4 separate regions of the Homo sapiens genome follow, and regions 1, 3 and 4 are each linked to region 2. The links are contacts of gene promoters, found by promoter capture Hi-C in blood cells and fetal thymus (Javierre and others, 2016). All regions are on one chromosome and are shown on one strand. The core of a region is centred on a gene start or on the middle of the fragment in contact, and the rest is flanking DNA. Distances in the headings are between cores, read along the strand shown. Region 1 overlaps ASPH (aspartate beta-hydroxylase). Region 2 holds the start of CHD7 (chromodomain helicase DNA binding protein 7). Region 3 holds the start of TOX (thymocyte selection associated high mobility group box). Region 4 has its middle 15 kb from the start of MIR4470.

Region 1 (6,540 bases), core at 622-3,121, 1.0 Mb before region 2:
CCTCTCCTATCCTCTCCCCCTGCTTCTCCTTCTCCTCTTACTTCCTTAAGAATTGTGATTAGTACGGAATATTTTCTCTGCACCTATTGATATTATATATTTGGTTTTTCTCCTTCCATACTTTAGATGGTAAATGATAACAATAGATGCTCTAATTTAAAACCATCCTTACATTTCTGGGAAGAATCCAGCGTGGTGGTTTTATATATTTTCAGTATTATTGGATTAGTTAATAGATCCATGAGTAAAACTGACCCGACATTTTCTTTCCTGGTTTTGTTATCAAGGTCATATTCTAGCTGCATAAATGAATTTAGGAAGATTTCTTCTTTTTCTGTTCTTTGGCATAGTTTGTATAGAAGTAGTTATTGGGGGGCTGGGCGCGGTGGGTCATGCCTGTAATCCCAGCACTTTGGGAGGCCAAGGCCGGTGGATCACAAGGTCAGGAGATCCAGACCATCCTGGCTAACACGGTGAAACCCCGTCTCTACTAAAAATACAAAAAAAATTAGCCGGGTGTGGTGGCGGGCACCTGTAGTACCAGCTACTCAGGAGGTTGAGGCAGGAGAATGGCGTGAACCCGGGAGGCGGAGCTTGCAGTGAGCCAAGATTGCACCACTGCACTCCAGGCTGGGCGACAGAGCGAGACTCTGTCAAAAAAAAAAAAAAAAAAAAAAAAGAAGTAGCTATTTGGTAAAACTCATTGGAACCTTTTTGTCATTTTACCCCAACACTGGGTGAGGTGTGGGTAGACATGAGGGGAAACTGCCTTTGCTTTTTAAATGTTTACAGGACTACTTAAAATTTCTGTGTCTTCTTGAGTTAGGTTTGCTATGTTATATTTTCTCTTGGTAGGTACATTTGAGTAAGTTATATTTTCTAAAACGTTTTCTGTCTTTGAAGTTTCAAACTTACTGGCAAAAAGTTGTGTATGGTTTTAGTGCTTCTTGTAAACAGAATATAGCTATTGTATGTCTAGTATTACCTTGTAATAAAATTCCATTTAAAATGACTAAATACTAAGTTTCTTTAAATTGTAACTATTTCAGCTACTAAGAATGTTTTGCTAAGTTTATTAAAGTAAAAATTCTTTATAAAATACATGGGATATTCTAACATCTGTGAGAAGGTAAGCCATTTAATACTGGTAATTTGGTTTAATTGACTTGATATGCTGCTCATTTTCCTCCTTAAATGGTAATAACTAGCAATAGGTACATTGGTTTGTTAAAAATTGAACTTTCTTCATGACTAAAATATAATGCTTATTTTCTTGAATCTTAAGATTTATTTGATTATTTGGTGGTTTCTAGCTGGTCCATCTGTTTAGTTGTAACCAGTAAATATACCTGGAGACCTAGGGAGCCTGGCATGGATCCAAACATAGCCCAATGTTTCAATCACATATTTGCTTTGTAACATTATTAAAATGAAATTAACTTATATGAAGGTGGAAAACTCTTAAGCCCCTTGTATTTATTTTATAGTTTTTTTCTAGAAGTAGTACACTATTTGTGTTAATAAGTACCCAAGCTAATTTTTAGAATTACCTTGTTATCAGTGAGACATTTAAGATGACTGGGTAGGATAGAGTAACATTGAGTAAGAGCACAGTTCACTAGCTTAAGTACTTTTACTGATTTGGAGTAAACTTGAAATAAACTATGTATGTTCAACACCTTCCTGCTCAGCTGGTCCTTCACCAGTGCCTTGTGGTCTTAGTGTGCTTTTAGCTTATGCTTATTCGTATTTTCAATGCCAGCTATTTCACATCTTCACCAACTTCAGCCAATATCTTACTATTTATCTTTCAGTTGTGGCAGACGGCAAACTACAGTGAGAAAAAAAGCAGAACAGTGGGGCCACCTCTGAGGCTGGGGATGGGGTGCAATGGAAATGGCCATGAGGGAATTTAAGCAGAAATATTGATGTTCTAGATCTTGATAGGGATCTGGGTTACATGTTGTATACACTTGTTAAATCTCAGGGAATGTATACTTAAAATTTATGCATTTCATTTTGTGTAAATTTCACTTTAAATAACTATAAAGAAATGTGTAACTATAGTTTATGATACTCATGCCGAATTATTTAGGAGATGTGTGCTGATGTCTACAGTTTACTTTGCAATGCATTATACAAACAAGGTGATGATGTAAAGGGATGAATAGGTATGCTACAAACAATATAATACCATGTTAATATTGTAGCGGAATCTAAGTGTTATGAATCCTTTCAGCTTTGTTGTGTTTTGCAAATTTTCATAGTAAAACATTGGGGAAATTCTTACGTTGTTTGTTTCCTGTGAAATAGCCATTTTTGTGGGTCAGAAACTGACAATTTCCTGTGGTTGAGCCCGACATATGGAAGCACATTTTGTAGCCATTTTATTGAGGCATCTTTATCTGCCTGGATGCTAACAGGAAATAGCTTCATTTTTCTCCATTCGTTGTGCACAGTTGGGATAGATTAATCTGTTTGCTCTTGGTAGCAGAGGATCTTGACCATCTTTGGGACAGAACTTAACATCTCAGTCACTCTTTTTAAAAGTCTGTCTGGATTAGAGCTGATCTCATTTTCGGTGCTTATGTTCCTGTCTCCCCTTTGCAGCAGGGCAGGAGGGGAAGGAGTGAGTGTGCTTTCCTGTGGTTTGCCTTTGGGGCTGTGCTGGGGAGGAAAAGGGGGTGAGGCCCCTCTCAGTCTCCTCTCTAAGTTGATAAGATTGACTGGCATGGTTATTCACAAGTGACAGGTGCTCAAACACTGCCCATGTGAGTTCTTTGAAAGGCCTGGTATGGACCCTCCCTGTGACACATGACTTGGTCCACCCTCAATCCCCTGGGCCTCCACTCCTGGCAGAATACTTCATCCCCCCTTGCTCTTGGGAGCCCATTGTGTGTCAGTCAGCCCTTTTGAGTGAGGTGCTGGCAAAATGGTACAAACGCTGGTACTTCCCTGCTGCCCTCTTGGATTTGTGGGAAGCTGACATTTTGCCTGGAGCTTGAGCTCCCTTGTAGCCGTCACCTTTCTCTGTAGCCGTCATTCCCCAGTTCCCTCTGCTGTTCAACTAGGCATAGGGTGGGCCATGGAGTCCGTTGCTTGAGTGGACATCCACTGGGGAATGAGAAGTCAATCTCCCTGCAGGCACCCTTGGTCTCTGACAGGCATTCTCCTGCAGAGAACTCTTGATATCTCTCTTAGAAATTTTTTAAGTTTTTATTATAAAATGGAATTTTTTTTCACAGTCTTGCAAGTAAACTATGTGCCTTCCTCTATAATACTGCTTTTTAAAAATTTTTCTTAGGATTTTCTAGGGTTGATAGAGTGAAACTCACAGTTAAGAGAAACTTTTTGATTTTTTTTTTCTCATTGCAACTGTCTGGTGATTTAATTTAAAGAGTCGAGATTTTGTGAATTAGAATAATGAATTTTTAGAATTAGAAGAGACATGAGATAATATACTTCATTTATTCATTATTTTTCATTTTACTGAGGCCCATGAAACAAGAAACTTACCTTGCAGTACCTGCAGTACCCCTCTCTCATTTGTCTTATGGCGAGGGATTTTTGGAATTTATAAACAAATATTTGTACCTTACCAAGTAGATTGAAATATGAGATTCACTATTCTACAGAAGTGTGGTTATTTAGCTTTTGGCAAAGTTGTGAAATTTTTACTGATCTGTATGTAGGAAAAGTCAGACTTCATGCTGTTAGGGTGAAGGCCGCTGTTAGGGCATCACCTGTTTATTCAGTTGATCATGTTTTCTGCAAGAAGTTAGGCAAACCATACAGTCTGAAGGAATAGTTCTCACAAGACTGCCCTCACTTCAGGCACCAGCTATAATTTTGGGGTCCCCAGGGTCCTCTGGAGATCACAACTGATATGGCATGTCCCAGCGCCCACTTGGTTAGGCTGTCCAGTGGCCAAAGCCCCCAGGCAAAGACACTGTTATCAGGCAGAACATTCCTGGGATCTGGAGACCCCACTGAAGTAACCAAGGGCAAAGACCAGACTTCTCTTTGGGTAAAGTTAATTGTTTATGCAATTTTTAGTTGCAGCCATTGTTGGTGTTTATTACTGTTACTCACTTTTATTATTAATTTATTTAGTAAGAGCTTGTTGGCCATCTGTGATATTGTGAAATATATATTTGGTCTTCTTCTTGTTTCCTGACATACATCTCCTAAAACCCTTGTGGTCTCCCAGAGTCTTAAGAGTGTCTTTCGCTAATAATTGACTGGCGGCTAACAGCCCCTAGATAGCTTCAGGATGGGTGCCGGTCACAGGAAAGACAAAGGCATCGTTAGAAGATTGGAACTTTCAGCCCCACCCCCAACCTCTGGGAGGAGAGAGGGGCTAAAAGTTAACTTGATCACTAGTGACCATTGATGTAATCAGTCATTCCTAAGTAATGAAGTGTCCATAAAAAACTAAAAAGATGGTTCCTGGAGCTTCCAGATAGCTGACAAAGATTAATAGAGGAGACAGTGTGCCCAAAGAGGGCATGACATGTGTTTAAGTTTAGCCTAAAGCTGCCTCCTTGCCTATTTCAAGTTCAGCCTAAAGGCTTTTCCATATGTAGTAAATCGTAACGTAACTAAATGAATAAACAGACTGTAACCTACCCTTGTATCAGTCACAGAATTTTAGTCAGTCACAGGGGTACAACTGTTCAAACTATATTCAAATATGGCAAACACTAAGCTGTAGCCAATCCAGCTGTTTCTGTGCCTTTTTCTGTCCATAAGTATTACCTGACCTTGTGGCAGCCCTGGAGTCTCTGAACTGCTTCTGGGTCCTGCCCAATTCAACAATTGTTCTTTGCTAAATTAAACTCTGTAAATTTAATTTGTCAGCCAGGTGTGGTGGCTCACACCTGTAATCCTAGCACTTTGGGAAGTGGAGGTGGGAGGACTGCTTGAAGCCAGGAGGAGTTCAAGACCAGCGTGGGCAACAAAGCAAGACTCTGTCTTTACAAGACATTTTTTTTTTTTCTAATTAGCTGCATATGGCGGTGCATGCCTGTGGTCCCAGCTACTCAGGAGGCTGAGGTGGGAGGATTGCATTCAAGGCTAGGAGTTCAAGGCTACAGTGAACTCTGATTGCACTACTGCACTCCAGCCCGGGAAACACAGTGAGACTCTGTCTAAATTAAAATCAAATAAAATAATTTTAATTTGGCCAAAGTTTTTCTTTAAACACATGGAAACTTGGCACTTCTTCCCACATACCTTGCCCTATGCATCTCTTCCATCTGGCTGTTCATCTGCATCCTGTGTAATATCCTTTATAATCAACTAGTAAATGTGTTTCTCTGAGTTCTGTGAACCCCTTTAGCGCATTAATCAAACTGGAGGAGGGGGTGTTGGGAACTCCGATTTATAGCCAGTTGGTCTGAAGTATAGGTGACAACCTACTACTTGTGACTGGCCTCAGAAGTAGAGACAGTCTTGTGAGACTGAGCCCTCAACCTGTGGGATCTGACACTATCTGCAAGTAGATAGTGTCAGAACTGAATTGAATTAGAGGACAGCCAGCTGGTGTCTACTGCAGAATTGATTGGCTGCAGAATTGATTGCTTACTTGCTGGTGAGGAGAAATCCCCACATGTTTTAGTGACCAGGGGCTGCAGGAATATTCTGTGTTGACTGTGGGGTGAGAGTACAGAAGGAGAAAATATAGAGTTTTCCCAATATCCTTATAATATCCCCAAGATGTATTATAATTCATAATTGTATCAACTGTTTTTTGACCTATGGTTTTCTACTAACTCAACTGTAAGACGTGTGTTTTATAATTTACAGGATTCTTCTGTGTATGCTGTGCTAATGAATTTTTGTAATCCCTCACTTTCCTCCCCATTTGCATCTGTAGGGCACTTTATTTTAAATGCTGGATTCTTTTGCTCCAGAAAGTGGGAACTGGTGGGGAGGAGGGCCATGGATCTTTTGCTGTCAAAATAGGTTAAAGTCAAAGAGTCTTCATGGACACAGCTGTAAACCAGTGTTAGTTGTCCATATTGGCAGTGTGTCCTTGTCTCATTGCCTTGAAATTTAGAGTTAAAGCAGGATTAAGCTTTTTTGTTTCTTAGTTTTGAAAAAATAACCTTTTTTATTCATTGTAATAACTTTTCTTTCACCACCTCAGAGTTTCTCAGTGGACATAGCTCATCTTCCTTTACACCTTTTGCTTCTCTCAGGCCAGTGAGAGACTGTCTTATTTTGAACACCATGCTAATAATTATCACCCACCCATGTGGACAATTGAATAGCTCAGAGGAATGCTTTTTTTTTTCTATGAGACCGTCTTCTCTATTGAGTGCTCTGTAGGGAGAAATAATTACGTTTGCAGAGCCGACTCATTAGGCCTGGCTTGAGGAACTAGCCTGTGAGGTTAACTACTATTTATATTGTGTTTTTATCTTCTTATCAGTGGTGTTTGGGTCCATCACAAATTCGTATGACAGGCATGGGTGGACCCATATTTTGATTCACATTCTCTGCTGCAGTAAATCGGTATTAGCACAGAGGTGTGGG
Region 2 (6,402 bases), core at 1,127-3,626:
ATAAAGACACGTATTTTGTTTCCTCTTCGATTACTACGTATACTGAGTACTCCCTCCCTTACCGAGAGAGAACTGGGGTGAAATAACACTTAACCCCTTAGAAAGGTATCGCCCACTGCAAAGACGGCTTAAATTAAAATTTTTAGAAAATAAAAAATCAGGGCCTCACAAAATCCTTTAAAAATAAATTAAGACATGTAATGTATTCCAGAAATTAAGCCCCCAAAAGGGACACTTTTTAAGATAAGTTATTTAAATCGATTGCTAGATAATATACAATGGGAAACTAAAAAGTATACTTAGCAAGTGGAGCGCTGGATAGTGTATCTAATTCTAGCAATTCAAAAGGAAACTCTCTCCATGTGGGTTGCTACTTTTCTTTTGTCCATTGTCTGTTCAGAAGAGGGGGAAAAAAACTAGTTTAAACCAAGGCGTGAGCAGTCTCTAAAAGTGACCTCCAGGAAAAGAGTCCGACCCATAGCAGGAGCACTCTCCGCGCCGCTCGCTTCACGGGGGCGCTCACAAAGCGGGCGGCCGGCCGGGAGTTTGGGGTGCGCTCCCACGGCTCCGGGCTCCTCGAGGCAGAGCCATCCGGAGAAAGGCGGCTCGGTAATGATGGCTGCTCGGGGCCGGCGGCTCCTTCCCCAGAGCCTCCCGACCAGCGCCCCCACCCCCGCCCGGGAGCCGCCGCCGCCGCCGCCCCCGCCCCCCCCCCCCGCGACCTCGACAGCCCCGCGCCGCCGCGCCCGCCCCGCACCGCAGCCCAGCCGGTGCCCGCGCCCCCGCCCGAGCCCCGCGCCCCCAGCGAGCCCAATCCCCGGTGCGAACCAAACAAACAACGCGTCCCCCACCGCCCTCCTTTCCTCTCCCCGCTGACCGCTTGGCCTCCAGCCACCTCGGCCGTTCACGCTCCAAGCCGCGGCTCTCTGCGAGGGCAGAGCGCACCCGGGTCACCTCGGGGGCCACCTGGTGACCACCCCCCACCGGCGCTGACCCCCGGCGGGTTGGGGGGCGGGGGAGCCGAGTTGCGTTGGAAGGTTAAAGTCGCTATTATGCAGCTGCCGCCGCCGGCGGCCCGGCCAGCTCGACAAGGTGGGGTCCCCTCCTCGCCGCGCCTCCCGGCGCTCGCCCCGGCCCCGCTCCCTTTCTTCTCCTCCTAGCGCACTTGGGAGCCGCCGGGGAGCCCCAGGAGCCCCCAACTCCGGGCTCGCAACTCCGCGCCCGCGACCGGCACTGGCTGAGCTCGGGACGCCTCCCGCGCCGCGTGTTCGCGCTGCCCCCGCCCCACGCGGCGCCCCGCGCACTTTCCCCGCCGCCGACCCACCTCGCTCGGTGGCGGTCCCCGCGCGGGCTGGCGCCGCCGCGCCGGGAGGAACGCACTTTGTTCGCGCCGGTGCGGCCGCAGCTCCCGGCGAGCGCGGCGTGGTCGGTCCGGAGCGGGGGGCGGGGGCGGGAGGCGGGGGTCGCCGCCGTCCCCGAGCCGCCGCCGCCGCTGCTCAGCCGCCCCGCGCCCGCGCGCCCATCGCCCGCTCGCACTTGAGTTGGAGCCCAACTTTTCCTCCTTCCTTTTTCTCTCGAATGGAGCCGGCAACTCGTGCTCGGCGCCGGCGGGAGGAAACGCGCTCGCGCTCCCCCGCGCGCAGACACGCTCCCTCCTGTCCCCCGTACCCCCCCCCCACGCCGGCAGCACAACAAAAAGCCATTTACATGCGAGGAAGTGACCCTCGGCCGCACCGCGCGCCCCCGCCGCCGCCGGCCCGGCGGACGCAGGCAAAAGTTGGGGCGCCGGGCGGCGCTCGGGGCGCGGGTTCGGGCCCCGCGGGCGGCGACGCCGGCGACACTACGCGGGCGGCGCTGCGCTCCTGCGCTGGCCCCGGCCCCCTCCCGCCCTCGCCCCTCGCCCCTCGCCCCGCACACGCCCAACTCCTCGCTCCCAACTCCTAGCGCGGCCCCGGCCCCGGCCCGGAGCGATTTCCTGCCGCCGCCGCCGCCGCCGCCCCTCCCGGGGGCGCCGGGCGAACTCTCGCGCTCACCGGGTCGGTCGGGCTCCTCCGCTGCCTAGTGCCGAGGGGAAAACAAAACGCAGAGCGGGCTCCGGAGTTGGCTCGGCAGCTGCGGCCAGGGGGCTGAATCCACGGGCACGGAGTTGGCCGGGGGCGAACGGGTCTCTGGTGAGTTTCAGGGTGTCCGGGTCCCCGGGCCGCCTCCTCCGCGGCGCTCCTTTGTGTAATTTCACTCGATTCAAGTTTAATCCGATAGTTCCCGAGCACGAGCGCGTCCGCACCACCACGACTCAACCCCCGCGCCGCCGCCGCCGCCGCCGCTGCCGCCGCCGCCGCCGCCGCCGCCGCGGCCCCAGCACGCCAGCGCCTGCGCGCGTCCGGCACGCCGCGCGCACCCGAAGCCGCGGGGCCGCGCGCGCCCGCCGCCAGCTCCCTCCGGGCCGCGCCGCGCCCGCGCCCGCGCCCGCGCGCCGCCACCTGACGTCAGGCGCGCCTGGCATAATTTATGCAAGAATTCGGCCGGGGTGGCGGAGGCCGAGGGAGAGGCCGAGAGAAAAGGGGCGGCGCGGAGCTGCTGGGCCGCGGGCCGCGGGCCGCAAGGGCGGGCCGGGCGCCACTTCCCGTCCCCTGGCGGGCGCCGGCGCTTCAGGCGGGTCTCCCCGCCGGCCGGTGCGCTGCTGCCGCGGAGTCTTCCTTGCCCGGCTGCACGGAGCGCTCGGCCGCTGCGCCCGGGCGCGGACTGGAGGGGCTGCTGCCACGTCTCCCGCGCGGCACCTTCCCGGAGCCGGGTGCGCCGCCCCGGGGCAGGAAGCGGGGCTCCGGGAGGGCTGCGACCCTCCTGGCTGCCGCGAAGGGTTTCCGACGCTGCGCGGCCGGCGGCGGCCGGGGGTGACTGGCAGTCTCTGCAGTAATTATCCTTCAACTTGAAATTATTTTCCCACATGAAATTATTCGGAAGGGACATGTTCCATTCCAGATGGGTTCGTGCCTGCTTCTCCACATCGCTTTTCCCACCTCTTCGTGGATAGGACACCGGATCCACTACTTAATCAAAAAGTTTAACTAGATGGCATTGATTTTGTCGAATTTGTTACCATACCAAAAAAGAGAGAGAAGGCAGAGAGCTCAATGATTATGAAACAAAGAAATAGGATGTATGCCCATTATTAAACGTGTCGGGACTAGAATGTTTTACTCATTCTTTGGCCAAAATGGCACTTGTATCTGATTGCATAGTCTTAAAAATCCGAGCCTCTTATTCCATTTCTCTTCCCGGTACAAAATGAATGTTAAACCTGAAGAAAAAAAACTTTTTTTTACTAATTTTTATTTTAGGAAATAGATCTACAAACATGGATTAAGCCTCTTCTATCTGCAAAATACGGAGCAATTATAATGTGTTTAAACCATCAATTGTAAACTTTAAGATAATTTTATTAGGTTAAAGATTGCACTTATTTTAAAATCAGGAAAGGAACTCATATCAACCAAAGATTGCCCTATGGCAGGTACAGACTGACTGGTTATTACTGGACTCCAAAATAAACTGAGAAAATAGCAAAACTATGTAAAATGTACTAATCTCACTCACTGATGGTTACACTACCTGTAGTGCTAAGCCTGTAATCACAATATTGTTATTTGGACAAAAGATTAATCAAAACTATCTCATTAAGTAACTACTGCAACTATTCAATAAGTTTGATTATCCTAGACTTAATCACTAAGACATTGATTTTCTGATTTTAGTAATAATTCTATAAATATATCACATTATATTGTGGTTTGTTAAATGCACTGCTTTTAGCTTGCTTTCATCATGTATTTGAGTTTTGTTCTAAAAGAAATAAATGTTTTAATGTTTAAGGAGCTTACAGATCATCAAAAAGAACATAGAAGACAGTACAGAAAGAATTCTGGCATTTAAAAAGTTGAAACCACTAAAATCAACTTCCATCTGTTTTAAACCCGGTATCACAAACCAAGAATCACAACTCTGAGGTTAGGCTACTGTTTCCATTAAGTTTATATTTCCCAATGAAAGTATATGAAAGGTGCTTTAGGGGTGTGTGGGGCGGGGGGGTCAAAAACAGGACACAATGTCTAGAAAAAAAATCGCTAGTACCTGACTATATTAGAACACATTTTTAAAATAATGTGCCATAAAAAATTATGTCTTATCTTTTACAGTGTGCCACAGCTCGATATCAGATGTGCATCTATTTCAAGGCAATTCACAGGAGAAAAAAAATGACATCTACATATAGTGAAATTACAATATTGCAATTAACTTGTTATCAACAAATATGACTATGAGGAGATTCCCTGTGCTCTTGTACATTTAACTCGAAAGCTAGGAAACTTCCTTTTGATATATACCAGTACCCAATGTAAAAACAGTCCTACAGAATATAAGTCCTCTGACTTATAGTCTCCTTATCCTGATCACTGCCCTGAGCCATCATGAAGAAGTCTCTAAGCTTTTAGATGTTGTGGTGGTGTGGAACGTAAGGGGCCTTAAAAAGTAGAGGCCCTCAGGGGCAAACTCCTAGGCAGATCTGGCCTACCTGAGTCATAGCTCTCACCACACCACCACCATCCCCCAACACTCCCCTTTAGCCTGAAATGTTTTTTCTCCATTTGCTTCACTATTGAAGTTTTCCCAATGAGAGTAATTTGAATTCACAAGCTTTCTCTTTAAGTATGCAAATACCTTAGGGTGAGATAAGGGGCTACTGGTCTTTCACAGATGAGTGTAAATTGGTTCAATGGGTTGCTTTCCTCCCAACAGCTAGCCAGAGTAACAAATTTAGAGACTTAGCCATTCATTCAACTTCGAGTGCCTAAGAGTTTCCAGGATTGGTTCTAGGTACTGGAGATATAGTAGTGAACAAAACAGACAAAACGTCCTGCCCTCATGGAGTTTACAATCTAGTGGATTGGTAGTTTTGATCTGGTGATAAGGGAGAATGTTAATTTTGGAGTCTGAGCCCTGGAGGAATAGGACAGACCTGAGTTCCGTGTAGCCAGAGGACAGTGGAAAGGTACTAAGGACCTGGGAAGGAGGGCATTGAAGAATGGAGCGGGCCAAGCAGAAAGCAGTTGAGAAAAACACCAAAGAAAATATGACCCACTACAAAAAGGTTGTCTAGGCCCTAGGTCATGAATAGATACAGTCTATTTGAAGAGCTCAGACTTAATGCTGAATTCCACAGACAAATAAATATCTCTGGAAAAATAGCCCAGAATGTATCAACCTATAATACCTGTGGTGAGGGGGTAATGTGCACATCTAAAATAACTGAAAAAACACTCTAACTCTCAAACACTTAAAAATCAAGTCCTATCTATATTAAATGTTTCCAACTTTAAAATATTATGTAAATTACACTAATTCCAGTGTTGAGGGCATCCTTCAGTATATTTTTGGAACTCATCTTTTGAAATTGTGTTCAGAACCAATTTGCAAGTACTGGAAAATAACTCTCTTTAGCGCCACATATTTTTCCCCCACTAAAAACTGTTATTTTTCTTCATTCACCAAATTTACATCCAAATGACTTTGGCTAGCTCCAAACAATATATTTTGCCTCTAAATGATGAAGGTTTACTGCCATTGAAGATACATAAATAATTAAAATATAAATATATAGAGGGGTATAAATGCTGAAGAAAGCAGCAAAAAGAAAAGTCTAAAAAACTTTTTCTGCTTCACTGGGATAATGGCATAATCCTCCTCTGTAATTTTTTCTTTTTTTTTTTTTTTTTTTTTTGAGACGGAGTCTCACTCTGTCACCCAGGCTGGAGGGGGCAGCGGCGAAGTCTCAGCTCACTGCAAGTTCCACCTCCCTGGTTCACACCATTCTTCTGCCTCAGCCTCCCGAGTAGCTGGGACTACAGGCACCTGCCACCACGCCCGGCTAATTTTTTTTTTTTTTTTTTTTTTTGTATTTTTAATAGAGACAGGGTTTCACCGCATTAGACAGGATGGTCTCGATCTCCTGACCTCATGATCCGCCCATCTCGGCCTCCCAAAGTGCTGGGATTACAGGCGTGAGCACCGCGCCCGGCCTGTAATTTTTTCATAAAAGAAAGCCGGCCAGGCACGGTGGCTCATGCCTGTAATCCCAGCACTTTGGGAGCTGAACTGGGTGGATCACCTGAGGTCAGGAGTTTGAGACCAGCCTGGCCAACATGGTGAAAACCCATCTCACTAAAAACACAAAGAAATTAACCGAGTGTGATGGCAGTTGCCTGTAATCCGAGCTACTCGGGAGACTGAGGCAGGAGAGTCACTTGAACCGGGAGGTAGAGGTTGCAATGAGCCAAGATCACACCATTGCACTCCAGCCTGGGCAACAAAAGTGAAACTCTGTCTCAAAAAGTAGTAATAATAAAT
Region 3 (6,890 bases), core at 2,164-4,663, 1.6 Mb after region 2:
AAATGATAACGAGAAGAAATTAAAACAATGGCTTAAGAGAAAGAGGATGTAAGGAGTACAAAGCAAAACTTAACAAAGAGTTAGTAAAGGAACTTGCATTGACAATTCACTCAGCCATGTTAATTTTATCATTAATACTGTCTTCATCATTTTTTTTTCCAGGTCTCTCTGCTCGTATTTGCTTGGTGCTCCGAAATGCACGGGAACAGACAGCTATGGGAAAGCTGCACAGAGCAGTTGGCAATCAACATGTCCTAGAAGGGTGTGTGGAGTAGCAAAACAAGTGGAACGGATGAAGAACTTCCAAGCTCCTTCGCAGAGTTTTGGGCCCTAGTGTGCAGGGCTGCTCCCTCATGAGATGGAGGACAATGTCGCCCACACCTACTTGGACCTCTCACCAAGGACACTGCCCTCAGAGATAAATCTGTTGGACGGCAGCCAAGAGACCCCAAATTGTCTCAACCTCCAGGACACGGCAAGTTGCAAGTTTCCGAGTTGGGGAGGCAAAGCGGGAAAACATGTTTGGCGATTTCCTCCTGCCACTCACCGACCGGAGAAATGGGGAGGCGGACTCCAGGTCTTTCGTGGACTGCCAAGAGCCCTATAGGGCGTCCAGCTATAAAAAGAGAAGAATCCCATGAAGGACAACAAGCAAACTCATATGTTATCCCTTTAGCCGGATTGTGTGCTGATGATTGTTTCCCTATTTACACTTCGAATCACCCCTGTGGTCTTTTGTGAGTCCCCAAGGCAGCCTCAGCCTTCGCAAACCGTCCAGTGGGGCACGAATCTCGGAGGGGTGCGGGCTGCAGGCGGCAGAGGGAAGCCAAAGAGGGGCGGCTTTTCCAGGCCGTCCACCCCCAGGCGAGCTGGTCCTCACCCTTCGATCGGCTCGAGTCCCTCGGACAGTTGCCCACTCACAGCGTGCAAAGGGGTCGCACTCCCTGTGGGTTCTCCGCCCTCAGAAGCGGCGCTGCGCAGGAAAGTCACCTCCACTACGGGCCGGGAGTAGGGAGGGGAGCACAGTGACAGGGTTGGGGAACAGCCGAGGAGGAGTGGGGGTCGCGGAGATAGGGGTGGGGACGGCCGCGGAGAGGGCGGTGGGAGTGGGGTGGGGCCGGGGAGGGCCGGGGGCGGGGCTGCGGGGCGGGGTGCGCCACAGCGCCCCCTAGCTGCGCGCTCCCCACGGTGCCCTGAGGCCGCTGGTGGCTCTGGCTCGGCAGCCCCTTTGTGTGCGACGCGCTGGTCCCGAGGAGCGCGGCACGGGCACAGCGGAGGCCTCCCAGGGTCCCACCGCTTCTGTCCCAGCCAGGCCGTGCTCTCCTCCTTCTCCTTCTCCGCTCCTCCTTTCTCCGGTCCCCGGCCTCTGGTTCCGAACAGCAGCCATTGGGCCTTGACGAGCCCGCGTCCGGCCGCGCTCCCTACCCCGCCCGGCCCGGGACGCTCGCCCCCCTCCCGCCCTGTCCCTTCTGGATCCCCGCCCCACCCCCCCACCCCCCACATCCCGGGCCTCCAAGGTGGAGAAAATAAACTACAAGCAGAACAACTCAGAATCTCCAATAAAACGCCCAGTACCTAGAGCCCGAGCGCGTGTGCCGGGCTGCGAGGGGCGCGGGAGGCGGGGATGGGGGGGCGGGCGGGGGGGACAATGAGCGCATGAAGTTACCTGCCCGGCGGCGGCGGCAGCGGCGGCGGCGGGACCAAGAGGCGGCGGTGGAGCAGGCTGCGCGCTCGGCGCCGACGGGTGCGCGCCGCGGCTTGGGGGAGAGTTGAGCGCTTTTCCCCCCTCTTTTTTTTTTTTTTCCTCTTCTTCTTAAACAAACCACAAACGGATGTGAGGGAAGGAAGGTGTTTCTTTTACTCCTGAGCCCAGACACCTCACTCTGTTCCGTCTAAGCTTGTTTTGCTGAACACTTTTTTTTAAAAAAGGAAAAAGAAAAGGAGTTGCTTGATGTGAGAGTGAAATGGACGTAAGATTTTATCCACCTCCAGCCCAGCCCGCCGCTGCGCCCGACGCTCCCTGTCTGGGACCTTCTCCCTGCCTGGACCCCTACTATTGCAACAAGGTGAACGCTCTGCTTTTGTTTCCACCGTGTTCTTGCTGCTTGATCCTGGGAGGGGAGCGGCGGTGGCCGGGCCGCGGCGGGGCCGGCTTGGCGGAGGCCGGTCCCGGGCGCGCTCGGCTCGCAGCCCGCTGCAGCCTGCGTGCGCTTGGGTAGTAAATATTGTGGAGTAGCTCCGGGGGCTTGCCAAACACCGCGATTGTGCGGAAAGTGACACGATTTGCTCGGATTCTTTCCTTCCTGCTGTTCGCGGCTAAGGATCCCTGCCTAGGTTTGCCGGGGGGCGTTTAAAAAAATAATAAGAGAAAACCGTGGAATACTTTGGGGGTGTGTCTGGGGTCCAGGAACGGAGGCAGAGTAAGAGAATTCAGTTTATTTCCCAGTTCCCCCTTCTCTCTCCCTCCCTCCCCGGGCAGTGGGGGCTCGTGGCACCACTTCCCTTCTCCGGATTAGTTGCCAGGGGAGCAGCCGGGAGTCGGGGTGCAGGGACCTGGGAGGCGCCCCTGCCCCCCACAGGGAAAACTGCCCCACAACTCTTTTGTTTTCTCAAACCGGTTCCGGCAGCCGAGCCCGGGTTCGGACACAGGTCCGCGGGCCAGAGCACAGCGGGGTAGCTGGGTCAAGGTTTGGGGAACAGTTCCTGTTTAAGGGGTGCGCGCGGAAATTGCAAGTTTGTTGGGAGCCGGGCGAGCACGTCGCGTTCAAGTCCAAAGCTCCCGCACTCGCGGAGCAGGGTCCGCGGCTGAGCTGTACCCACGGCCCGCTGACCTCGGGTGCCAGGGCCGCGGGGGCCCGGGGAGAGGCGGATCATGCCGGTGACCCGGAGGTGGGGCGCTGGCCTGGGCTGCTGCGGAGTTCGGCTGGGTCCACCTATAGGACAGTCAGGGGGTACGAGGGAGGGGGTTACTCTCCCGGCTTCTCGAACTCTCTCATCCCAGAGAGGGAGGACACGCAGGGACCGGTCCCCCAGAGTGGTCGCAGGGGCACGACTGCCCACGCCTAGGGCTAGTTGGACGTGTCTAAGCAGTCCCGTTGGATGAACGTTGGCAGAGAGAATTGAGTTCTCTAAAACGCTGGGCGGGCCTTTTAGACGCCCAACTCTCGCTTGGTGATAAATCTGCCTGATACTCACAGCCCCTGCAGGCACATCCATGGCGACCCTCGGTGCATTCCACGGGAAAAATCGTTGGGACTCCCAACATTTGCCTGGTGGCGAGTCATCACCAAACGGCTTTTTTACCTGATACAGAGATATTTAGTGCGCTGCCTTCTCAGCCCTGGACTCCGCACCACGCGACCGAGTCGCAGCTCCGAGTCTTGGACAGTGTTGACACACAGGCAGGCTCTCACACACACACTTCCCCGTGGAGAAGCTCCTCGATGCTGTGTCCAGTGTGAGACCCACTCAAAGGACTGTGCTGTGTGCCGATGGTGTTTAGGCAAGTTAGAAAAGAGGGACATCCAGTCTTGAGCAAGGCAGAAGGGCTTCCATTGTACAGGGAGCCCTTCAGCTACGGGCAAGTTGAAAGGTACGGGGAACTTTGGCAAGCGCATAGGAGTTTGTGTGATGAAGTTTCATTATTTGCTGGTGACATAGTTCTTTTAGTCTAAAATCTGTTTTGTCTGTACACTCAAGTATTGTGTTACGTTTTATTTTGCTTATGACACCAATACTATTGCTAATAAAAAATAATAAAGTTGCAGCCCTATCTTGGAGAGTAAAGACTTATTCCACTGTAGTTACCGGAACCAAAAGCTCAGAACTATTTTGGCAATGAGACTGGACAAATCTTATTAAGTTTATCAGTGATTTTAGGCCCCAAAAAGAAGTTAATGACTTGGATACACATTTCACTCCTCGTTCTTGTGATAAGTAGGGTCAGATTTAATTTAAAAGTTAAATGCTTTGGAAAATCAGGAATTACTTCAATATATTAAATCATTTTCCAATTAAGTGCTTTAAATAATTTTAGTGGGTTGTGCTGTGAATTGAATAAATTAATTTAGAAAGTATTCAGAATTTCTTTACTAGCTCATTGAAGTTCCTTTTAAGTCACCCCGTGTATAAGAAGCAAACTGTTCTTTTTAAATGCAAATTAGGCACCCTTTCTGTAGACTAGTTGCGAGTCTTCTATTTAACTTATCCAGAGAATAATAGATTTTTTAAAATCCAAAGTCATAAGACATGTTTCTAATAGTGGAAGAAGACTTCATGGAAATGTTTCTCCAGGGACATCTCTGGCCCATCTCTGTGTAGCAGTCCATCAGATATATTTGTCACTGGTCCCGATTATATTAAATGTACTGGATAGTTTTCTAGGCCCCACAAATCCCAGGCACTTGAGTTTTTTCACTCCACCATGATTAGCATTGGTACAAAATTTCTGTCCAGCTCCACAATTGTAGTTGTGCATAATGCAGTCAACTAGCATTTGTTTTTGCAATGACATGAGTGGATTTGCAGGGAAATGGAAGAAGGACAGAAGTTTGGAAAAGGTGAAGTAAGAAATCTGTGCCTACATTTATTAAAACAAGTTGGATCAGACATCCCCAAAAGAACAATACTGCAAAGTAAATCTTGCTTCCTTCGGAGGCGTAATGAATATGTAGCTTACTACAAATAGCAGTCAGTTTGTCAGGTGATTTGTTTTTAATAGGGTGATAAGATCATAAATTACTAATTATCTTTATTTTAAACCTGTCAACACTTTGCTTATTTAAAGTTGGTGTGCTAAATCCCAGCGGAACCAGTATCTATCTGTGCTTTAGAATCCTACAACTGTAGCTACAGTTTCCCGGTGACATTTTTTTCAATGTCAGAAGAGACTCTAATGGAGAAAATGAATATTCTCTTCCTGAAGCTTTCTAAACTAAAATGTGATTGTTTTACTCTGCTGACACTTTCCGGCACTGCTGCTCTATAGATTGCCAAAATGCTACTTACATTTTTCAGTTAATAAACTCTGGAGGAGGCATTTTTGGAAACGGTTTAATCTAGTATTGCTCTACTGTAAGACTAATACACGTTATGAACATATCACTATGCAAAGTAGCCTCCATTTTCACATAGCCCATTGTGGGAACAATGCGAATGATGTTGGTTAAGGCAAGTGTGTGAGGCATCTCTTACACAAACAGCCAGAACGGATGGCATGTTGCTGTATATAGGTCAGTGTTGGAAATAGCAGTGTAGCTCATAGACTGGACAGACACATGGAGGCTGGAGTTAACAGTATTCACCTCTTGCAGCCTAATGCATGGTTATATTTCAGACATTGAAAGATGAGTACCATAGTGGAGTTTCATCTAATTAGACTATTTTAAGTAACATTGTATCCCTTAATTGAGCTGAATGCTACCAAAATAAATTGGATTAAATGAGCTTACAATTGGAGTTCTGTAGTGATATAGTCTTGTTTTCTATTCTAGTTAAAGATGTCAGATCATCAGTTTAAATATATACCTACAGAGTAATAACAGTTCTTTTCAGTTTCTTAGTGCAGCGTCATTTCCAAAGATTGTTTTCACTGGTTTTATGCTAAGATAGGACAAAGAAGTGGTACTTTTTCATTTTTACAACGATGTGATGTGTTCAGTTATTGCTCAGTATCTGCCCACATAAGGAGTAGTAATACAATTATGTTATGACATGGCTAATGACAGGGATGGTGACCTCGGCCTGCAGTGGGAGGAGAAATAATGGGCTTCACTGTTCTCAGTGGTTGCCTTTATGGAATCATGTCCTGAATCTTTCTTTGGTTGATTTAGAAACAGGGAAGTCCAAAACACAAACCCATGCTTCATGCTGGTGATATACAGAGTGAAGAATAGTGGGCATTTGGAATATTCAGCTTTTATCATTGAAATGAGGAAGGACAGTGTATATGTTCTTTTTCGTAAAAACGCACAAGGAAGGACCCATTTGTGATGAACTCTGCTTGAAAATGTCAGGACAAACATTAGACATTTGATAACTTTTAAGAATAACGAGATTCATTACAGTCTCTGCAAAATCTCCTTTGAGCTTATTTTCTATTTAAAATGTATTATGTATTATACTTTAATGTGGCAATACTCATCAAAAATACAGGATTTGTAAGCACATTAAGAAGGAGTCATTATTCCTATTTTGAACAGTAAATGTAAGAAAAAGGAAAAGATGGGAGGAAGAGTAGGTCAAGGAGGAGTATGGGAAGAAAGAAGGTAAAGAAGGGAGGGTTATAAGCAGTTTAGAGCATCATGCTTGATTAGTTCTTCATCCACCTCCATAACTTCTAGGACTTTGGGAAATTCATAGTTGATAATTCATACATCACATATATATAATTAAAATTCCCCTGGGAGTTTTATCAGCTGGCACTTTTCAGAAGTTTTCAGGTTGTTAAATATGTTTTAAATAAATGCCTATGTAAGAAAGAGCATAAACCAAGCAATCATGGTTTTTTGGCCACTAAATCAGATATTATAGAAAAGTTTCAAATGTAGCTATCTTGACTGTGTGGGTTATTTCAGTATTGCAAATTCAATTTTAAATGTCTATGCAAACAAAGTTATAAGTATGAGCTATAGAGGGATCTGATGTTATTTTTAACATTGCATAGGTAGTTTAGTATTCTCACAGTTTATCATATATTTTAAAAGTTAGTAAATGATATTAAGGAGAATTTTGGTATTTTGCTTAGTTACAAAAACTAAACTAATATGTAAATATCTAATTGAATGATTATTGTGGATTTTGTTTAAATGATGTGATTGCAAGGGAATTAAGAACAGTGGAACAGGAAGAAGTAGGGAAATTTCCAGTTTTAGGGGTGGTTTCCTGGGTAC
Region 4 (6,985 bases), core at 1-2,500, 1.1 Mb before region 2:
GAAGTGCAGTGATCCAGCCCACTGTAATCTCAAACTCCTGGGCTCAAGCAATGTTCCTACCAGCCTCCCAAAGCACTGGGATTATCGGCATGAGCTACCTGATGCCTATAATCAGGACTGGACTGAACCTTTTAATCATTATGTCCCTTTCTGTCCCAGGTAATTTTCTTTACTTCTTTTTAATATCTACTTCTTGTGATTTCTAATGTTTACATGGAATACCATTTTCCATTCTTTTGAGTCTACTTATATTGTTATATTTGAACTGAACTTCTTATAGACCCTATGTAATTGGGTCATGTTTTAAAAGTTAAAACAATTAACAGGCTATATTTTGAGAGCAGGTTTAGATTTACAGGAAAAATTAAGCAGAAGTAAAGAATTCCGTACACCCTCCCTTTCCTAACTTCTCTATCTCCCCACAATGTCCTATTATTAGCATGTTGCATTAGCATGAAGCACTTGTTACAGTTTATAAACTGGTATTTATACATTATTATTAACTAAAGTCCATTATTAACTTTAGAGCTCCCTGTGTTGTACATTCCATGGGCTTTGACAAATGCATCATGTCATGTGGCCTGCCATTGTATTGTCATACAGAATAGTTTCACCATTCTAAAACTCTCCTGTGCTTCACGTGTTCTTTCCTTTCTCTCAAGCTCCTGGCAATCACTGATATTTTTACTACCTGTATGGAAAGCATAACCCACTTAACAACTTAAAAAACTAATAAAATTGAATAAGATTAGCTGAAAAATAACCAACACATTTCAATATTGGATCACATTTCAATAAACAAAATAAATAGAACAAATGATGTGTTCTTACTGAATGAATGAAAAAAGTGTCACCCTGTTTTAAACTCACTTTGAATTTGATGTAAATATTTTTGCTTAATGATTACCTTCTAAAACATGAATTAATATTTTTCTTTAATTGTCAGTAGTCTCTGTTTGCCAAATTCCACGTAGGCAATAGACATTTAAAATATGAAGATAGAGTATGTTCACTGGGCTCTAACATGTTACTGTTCATTATAACTTTATCTCAGGAAAAGGTGACTTTGCTACCTCTTGCATAATTTAAGTCTGTGCTGTTTTCAGCTACTGCTAATATTTTGTACAACTGAGAGTAAAATGTTTTATTATTCAAAATAAGCAATAGCCATATAAATGTGGTACATTCATCTTAAAAGTGATTGAAACTTTAATAAAAAGAGAAATCTTCAGGAATAATAGAATTTGTCTGCTTGTATAATACAAAGCAAAAGTTATTCATAGAAGTATGCAAATGCCACCCATCAGTCTCAGCAATCCTGAATCTTCAGTTTTTTTTAAGAGAATGTGATTATCTGTGAAGCCGGCTTTGTTTCATGGCTTAATTCTACCCATAGCTTCCTCTTCCCAGCTGTCTACATAAACCACTCCATCAGGAAGTATATCAATGTGCTCTGGGTATCCAATGGTGACAGGCCACATCCTGTACCCCCACGGGCTAGGGAAGCCTCTGGTAGCCACAGGAGAAGAAATGGAACTGGTACCTCTAAACAATCCACAAACCCTTCACCCACTTTCCAGTGCCTGCTTCTCCTAAACAACTAATTAGACAGGACACACCTTGTCCAGACAGTCATTATTTATTTATTCCATGAATATTTATTGAGTACCTACCTTCTATGCACTATGTATGTTTTAGGTGCTGGGGAAATGACAATGACCAAAACAAATTCTCTGTTCTAATGGAGTATATGTTTCCATGCTGAGATACAGATAATAAATAAATACTGAAGTAGAAAGATATACAAATATACACTATAATGCCATGGTGATAAACACCAGAGAGAAAAGTAAATCAGGTTGAGAAAGTAGAGATTGACAGAATGACAAGGTCATAGGTGTGTCAGGAAAGGCCTCTGTGTGTCCATGACCTCCAGACTCTAAGAACAGAGGAGAGAGGCCTTATGGATGTGTAGAAAAATAGGGTCCCAGGCAAATGCAAAAGCCCTGTGGTAGAAGCATATCTGTCACGTTCGAGAAAGCCCAAAAGCCAGTGTGGCTACACCAGAGTGAGCGAGCATGGGAGGACATAAAGTCAGAAAGGAATCCAAAGACTAGGTCACATATGGTTTTATAGGCCATGAACAGGATGTTTTCTTTTAAACACCACTTTCTTAGATATACCTTCTTGTCTACCATTTTATATTAGCCTCTCCTACTCATGCTTTATAAGAATATTTGATTTTGTTTTCTCCATAGGTTTTTACAATTAACTGGAAATTATATTGGACTTTGGACTTCTTCTAAATCAAGTAGAAAATGATTGAAGGCTTTTTGCTGTTTGCTAATTCTGACTTAGGCTTCCCGCCAATCACCGTGGATGCTGTGGGGAGGACGGTCTCTCAGAGGAATTACAGAAACTGGAAGATCATCCAGGACGCTCTTTTAGGAGATGGTGGCAGTTTAGGAAAGAGTAATTGTGATAGAGGTGAAAAGAAAAGAGGTGACTGTAATGTAGGATAAATTTTCCATTTAGAGCTGAAAAAAATTGCTGCAGAATTTAATGTGTGCTATAAGGAAAACAGCATCAAAGGAGAGGATGAGTTTCTGAGCCTGAGCATTTGCGTGAAAGGTGGGACCATTTCTAAAATGAAAACATTAAGCAGGGAGAAGGTCTATGGAGAGAAATCAAGAAACCACAATGCAGTGGATCCTTGACTTTAATGGTTTTTTTTGAGATAAATATAGGACCTTTAGGAATCTTTCAAATTCACACATATCCCCATAGCCTACAAGATTTGACATAAAATGCAGCCAACTGGCCTCTTCCTTTTTAGTCCCTTAAAGATCTCTCCCTTGCTCAGTGAGCAATTTTGGTGGTAGTCAGAGCACTGTCTGGAAATGGGGTCTCAAATATCTTTTTCTTAAAGGACCACATGGTAAACCCCTTTGGGGTATGACTCTGTCCACAGATAAATTTGGCATTATACTCTAACTCATCTAAACCTTTTCATTTTTAGCTAAGGACTCCTTTAGGTATTTCACTTCCATCATTAGCATTAGCAGCTTCTTTTTTGGCCACTTTTCAAGAAGAAATAGAGCTTGGTTCACCTTATGAACATTTCTGAATGTGAGACAATGACTCAGGATAAGGAAGCTAAGTCGAGGCAAGGTTCGTAAGTTAGCTATGAGGTTCTCTCTCTGGCTATGTAGGCCTTTCAGGAATATCAGCTTGCTTATTCCTGGAATATTCAACTGTATTTATTAATAAAATTTGAATTTATTTTGAGTTACAAACCAGGGAGTCTCACAAATGGTTGAAACCATTAATTTTAAATCATGAATGTCAATGACCTACTATCTGAATTGATCATATGAAGTTTTTGCTAGTTCGTTTTCCATGCTTGAGCTTATTGATGAAATTATGCTGTCTGAAATGCCTCTTCTCTGCCCTATGGTAATTCAAAGCTTCCCTTACCTAATTCATGGATTTATTAAGCACCTCAATATGGTTACAAATATCTTAGAGAGGCCATGTGTTCAAACAGAAACAGACAGACTTTGGTTCAGATCCCATCTTCCATTTACAATCTGTGTGACTTCTGAAACGTTGCTCACCCTCTCTGAGCATGTTTCTCCATCTTTCAGTGGGGCTAGTGACACCTAGTGAGGTGTTTGAAAATAGCCCAGAGTAAGTGCCTATGGTGGTCATGGGAGTGCACCCCTCAGACTGCCTTTGAAGGGTGCTTGCCTCGAGAAGCTCAGTTGGCCAATGACCCTGGCTGCCACGCCTTCAGATTTGTCCTGGCATTTACACCAAAGGCCACTGCTCCCACCCTAAGTATGGTGGCAGTAACAGACCTCAGCCATTTCTGCCCAGTATAGGACAGAGCTCTAACGATCACACTTTGCCAGAGTTTCCCATTGGCCTAGTTGAGGTTTTCTGTGAGCTCCTCTGAACCATCTATGGCTCCTCCTATCCAGTCCTCTTTCCTTTTCTTTCTCCATTTACAAGAATCAGGCTGCATCACAGGCCAAATATTCCCTCCCCTACTCCTGCTCCCTGCCCTTTCAGCCTTCTCAGGTGTTTCTCTTAATATACCTCTTACATGTCTGATTCTGTCTTGTCATCTGCCTCTCTCGGATCCTAACTGACATGCTGCCTTTAATGAAGACCAGTAGGACCTTGGGCAGGGTCTGGTCTCTGGAGGTAGGGTTCTTCAGCATTCTAGCATTTCTTCTCATCAGGACATAGAGCACATGTCCTCCCTGCAAGGTGTCACTTGTAAGTAGCCAGTTCAACATTAAGCATGTTTGCCCATTGCTGTTCCCATAAGAGCTCTTGACCTTTGACCTCTGGACTACATCCCATCATCTTTCCAGTATGGATTTTCCTGTGCTTTTCAGAATTCTTAATCCCACCTTTGTGCAGGGTCCATCATCATCCCTCCCCACAGCCATTTCAGCTCCCTGAATTTTGCAAGCTCTTGGAAATACATTTACAGCTGACCTCAGGAACTGGGTCCTAAGTCCCCTATGTTAGCTCTCAGGAAAACAAGAGCTCAAGTGTGCAAGCCCCTGCAAAGTCTCCAAGTTTGGGTAAGAATCATCAGGATCATGTGAAGGGGAAAGCTTGTGCACTAGCACCAGACTGCCAGGGTGCAGATCCTGAAGCTGCCATTTATCAGATGCGTGGCCTTGACTATTAGATGTGTGACTTTGAACATTTTTGGTGCCTCAGTTTACTTGTTCATCAAATTTAGATAACAATCACATCTATTTCATAGGGGTGAGGTGAGGATTGTGACAATAAACTCATGTAAAGCAAGCACTAGCGCCAGACACATAATAAATGCTCATTGCTCATTAATGTCTATTATTTATTTATTTATTTGAGACAGGTTCTTGCTCTGTTGCTGAAGATGGAGTGCAGTGGTGCAATCTCAGTTCACTGCAGCCTCTACCTCCTAGGCTCAAGTGATTCTTCCACCTAAGCCTTCTAAGTAGCTAAGACTACAGGCGCACACCATGACACTTGGCTAATTTTTGTTTATTTTTTGTAGAGACAGCGTCTCACTGTGTTGCCCAGGCTGGTCTCAAACATCTGGGCTCAAGTGATCCTCCCATGTTGGCCTCCCAGAGTGCTGGTATTACAGGTGTGAGCCACCATGCCCGGTGTCATTAATATCTATTTCCATCTATTTATATACATATGTAGATAATAAAATAGAACGAGAGCTCAACTGCAAGCCCTTGGAATGAATTCCAACTGTACATATGTACATAAATAGATGGATAACTAATCATAAAAAGGTTTTTTTCAGTAATAAGTAAAAAATGCAAGGCTGGGCATGGTGGCTTACTCCTGTAATCCCAGCACTTTGGGAGGCTGAGGCAGGAAGATCACCAGAGATCAGGAGCTCGAGACCAGCCTGGCCAACATGGAGAAACTCCATCTCTGCTAAAAATACAAAAATTAGTTGAGTGTGGTAGCATGTGCCTGTAGTCCCAGCTACTCAGGAGGCTGAGGCAGGAGAATCACTTGAACCCAGGGGGTGGAGGTTGCTGTGAGCTGAGATCACGCTGCTGCACTCCAGCCTGGGCAACAGAGCAAGACTCTGTCTAAAAAGCAAACAAACAAATATATAAGTAAAACTGCCTTTATGCATTTGATTTTTAAATAAGAATTTCGTTTTTTAGACAAAAAAATAAACTTGGGAGATTATATTTCCTGTTTCACAGTCACCCATATTAGAAAGTATAGTGCCTGAACATAAGTAATCCACTAAAAACAAATTAGCCCTTGTAATATCATCTCATACCAGTCAGAATGGCTATTATTAAAAAGTCAGAAAATAACAGATGTTGGTGAGGATGTAAATTATTACTCTCACAGTTGGTGAAAATGTAAATTATTACAACCCTTATGGAAAATAGTATAGAGATTTCTCAAAGAACTAAACATAGAACTATTATGCAATTCAGCAATCTCACTCAGGGGGTATCTAAACAAAGGAAGAGAAATCATTATTTCAAAAAGACACCTGCACTCTTATGTTTATCACAGCACTACTCACAATAGCAAAGATATTCAGTCAACCTAAGTGTTCATCAATGGATGACTGGATAAAGAAAATGTGGCATATATACACAATGGAATACTATTCGGCCATCAAAAAGAATGAAATCATGTCTTTTGCAATGACATGAATGGAACTGGAGGCCACTGTTTTAAGTGGAACAACTCAGAAACAGAAAGTCAAATCCCACATGTTCTCACTTATAAGTGGGAGCTAAATAATGTATACACATGGACATACAGTGTGGAATGACAGACACTGGAAACTTGGGAAGGTGGAAGGGTTCTTCGGGTTGAGAAATTACCTAATGGGTTCAATGTACATTATTCAAGTGATGGATACTCTAAAGGCTCAGACTTAAACAATACGTAATGTATCCATATAACAAGACTGTACTTGTACCCCTGACATTTACACAAATCAAAAATCAAAAAAACAAATTAGCCCTCATAAAACTATAATGGTTGAATGGAAGGAAGAACTGATTATAGAAAAAGAAAAGGAGAAAATATGAAGAGGAGAGAAGAGAAAGCTAAACAATAAATAAAATAATATTCAGGACCATGGAGTAAAGAGGAAGTGTCACTATAGAAGGAACAGTGGCCTGGCTATGAGTTTCTCAAGCTTTTCTAAAATTAGTGCCCTACTCATCCCCACAAGAAGCCTTTTAGATGTTTATTTTTTCATAATTGTCCTTCATCCCATGAAAATGTAATACTATAGATATACTACGTATCTGTTTATGTGCTATGGTTCTTTGGAGGTGCTATGGTTTGAATATTTTTGTCCTCTCCAAAAATCATGTTGAAACAGAATTGTCAACATGATAGTATTAAGACTTGGTGGCCGGGCACAGTGGCTCACTCCTGTAATCCCAGCACTTTGGGAGGCCGAGGTGGGCGGATC

What was found. Contacts are between HindIII fragments. The CHiCAGO score rates a contact against its expected background, and 5 or more counts as called.
Region 1: a contact is called between a fragment that was not itself captured here and the fragment with the promoter of CHD7 in region 2, in 1 of 17 cell types (neutrophils). The highest score is 9.1, in neutrophils.
Region 3: a fragment that was not itself captured here is called in contact with the fragment with the promoter of CHD7 in region 2 in 1 of 17 cell types (fetal thymus); the score reaches 6.2 in fetal thymus.
Region 4: a fragment that was not itself captured here is called in contact with the fragment with the promoter of CHD7 in region 2 in 1 of 17 cell types (neutrophils); the score reaches 5.0 in neutrophils.

The regions. Positions count from the first base shown.
Region 1 is chr8:61,696,420-61,702,959 of GRCh38, reverse strand. All of the region lies in intron 1 of ASPH (aspartate beta-hydroxylase), which reads left to right. Among named protein-coding and RNA genes, the nearest start is that of ASPH, 15 kb to the left of the region's middle. The HindIII fragment of the contact is 8,420 bases long and covers 1-6,081 here.
Region 2 is chr8:60,674,714-60,681,115 of GRCh38, reverse strand. It overlaps CHD7 (chromodomain helicase DNA binding protein 7), which reads right to left and starts at 2,376. Exons shown (of 38, transcript NM_017780.4): 1 at 2,034-2,376. RefSeq lists silencers at 899-1,268, 1,929-2,028, 2,389-2,828. The HindIII fragment of the contact is 9,178 bases long and covers 1-4,485 here.
Region 3 is chr8:59,114,062-59,120,951 of GRCh38, reverse strand. It overlaps TOX (thymocyte selection associated high mobility group box), which reads left to right and starts at 1,805. Exons shown (of 9, transcript NM_014729.3): 1 at 1,805-2,066. The coding sequence starts at 1,965. It overlaps TOX-DT (TOX divergent transcript), which reads right to left and starts at 1,742. Exons shown (of 3, transcript NR_149031.1): 1 at 1,667-1,742; 2 at 881-995; 3 at 1-616. RefSeq lists silencers at 1,061-1,280, 5,119-5,168. The HindIII fragment of the contact is 3,027 bases long and covers 1,900-4,926 here.
Region 4 is chr8:61,726,191-61,733,175 of GRCh38, reverse strand. No RefSeq gene overlaps it. Among named protein-coding and RNA genes, the nearest start is that of MIR4470, 15 kb to the right of the region's middle. The HindIII fragment of the contact is 4,439 bases long and covers 1-3,469 here.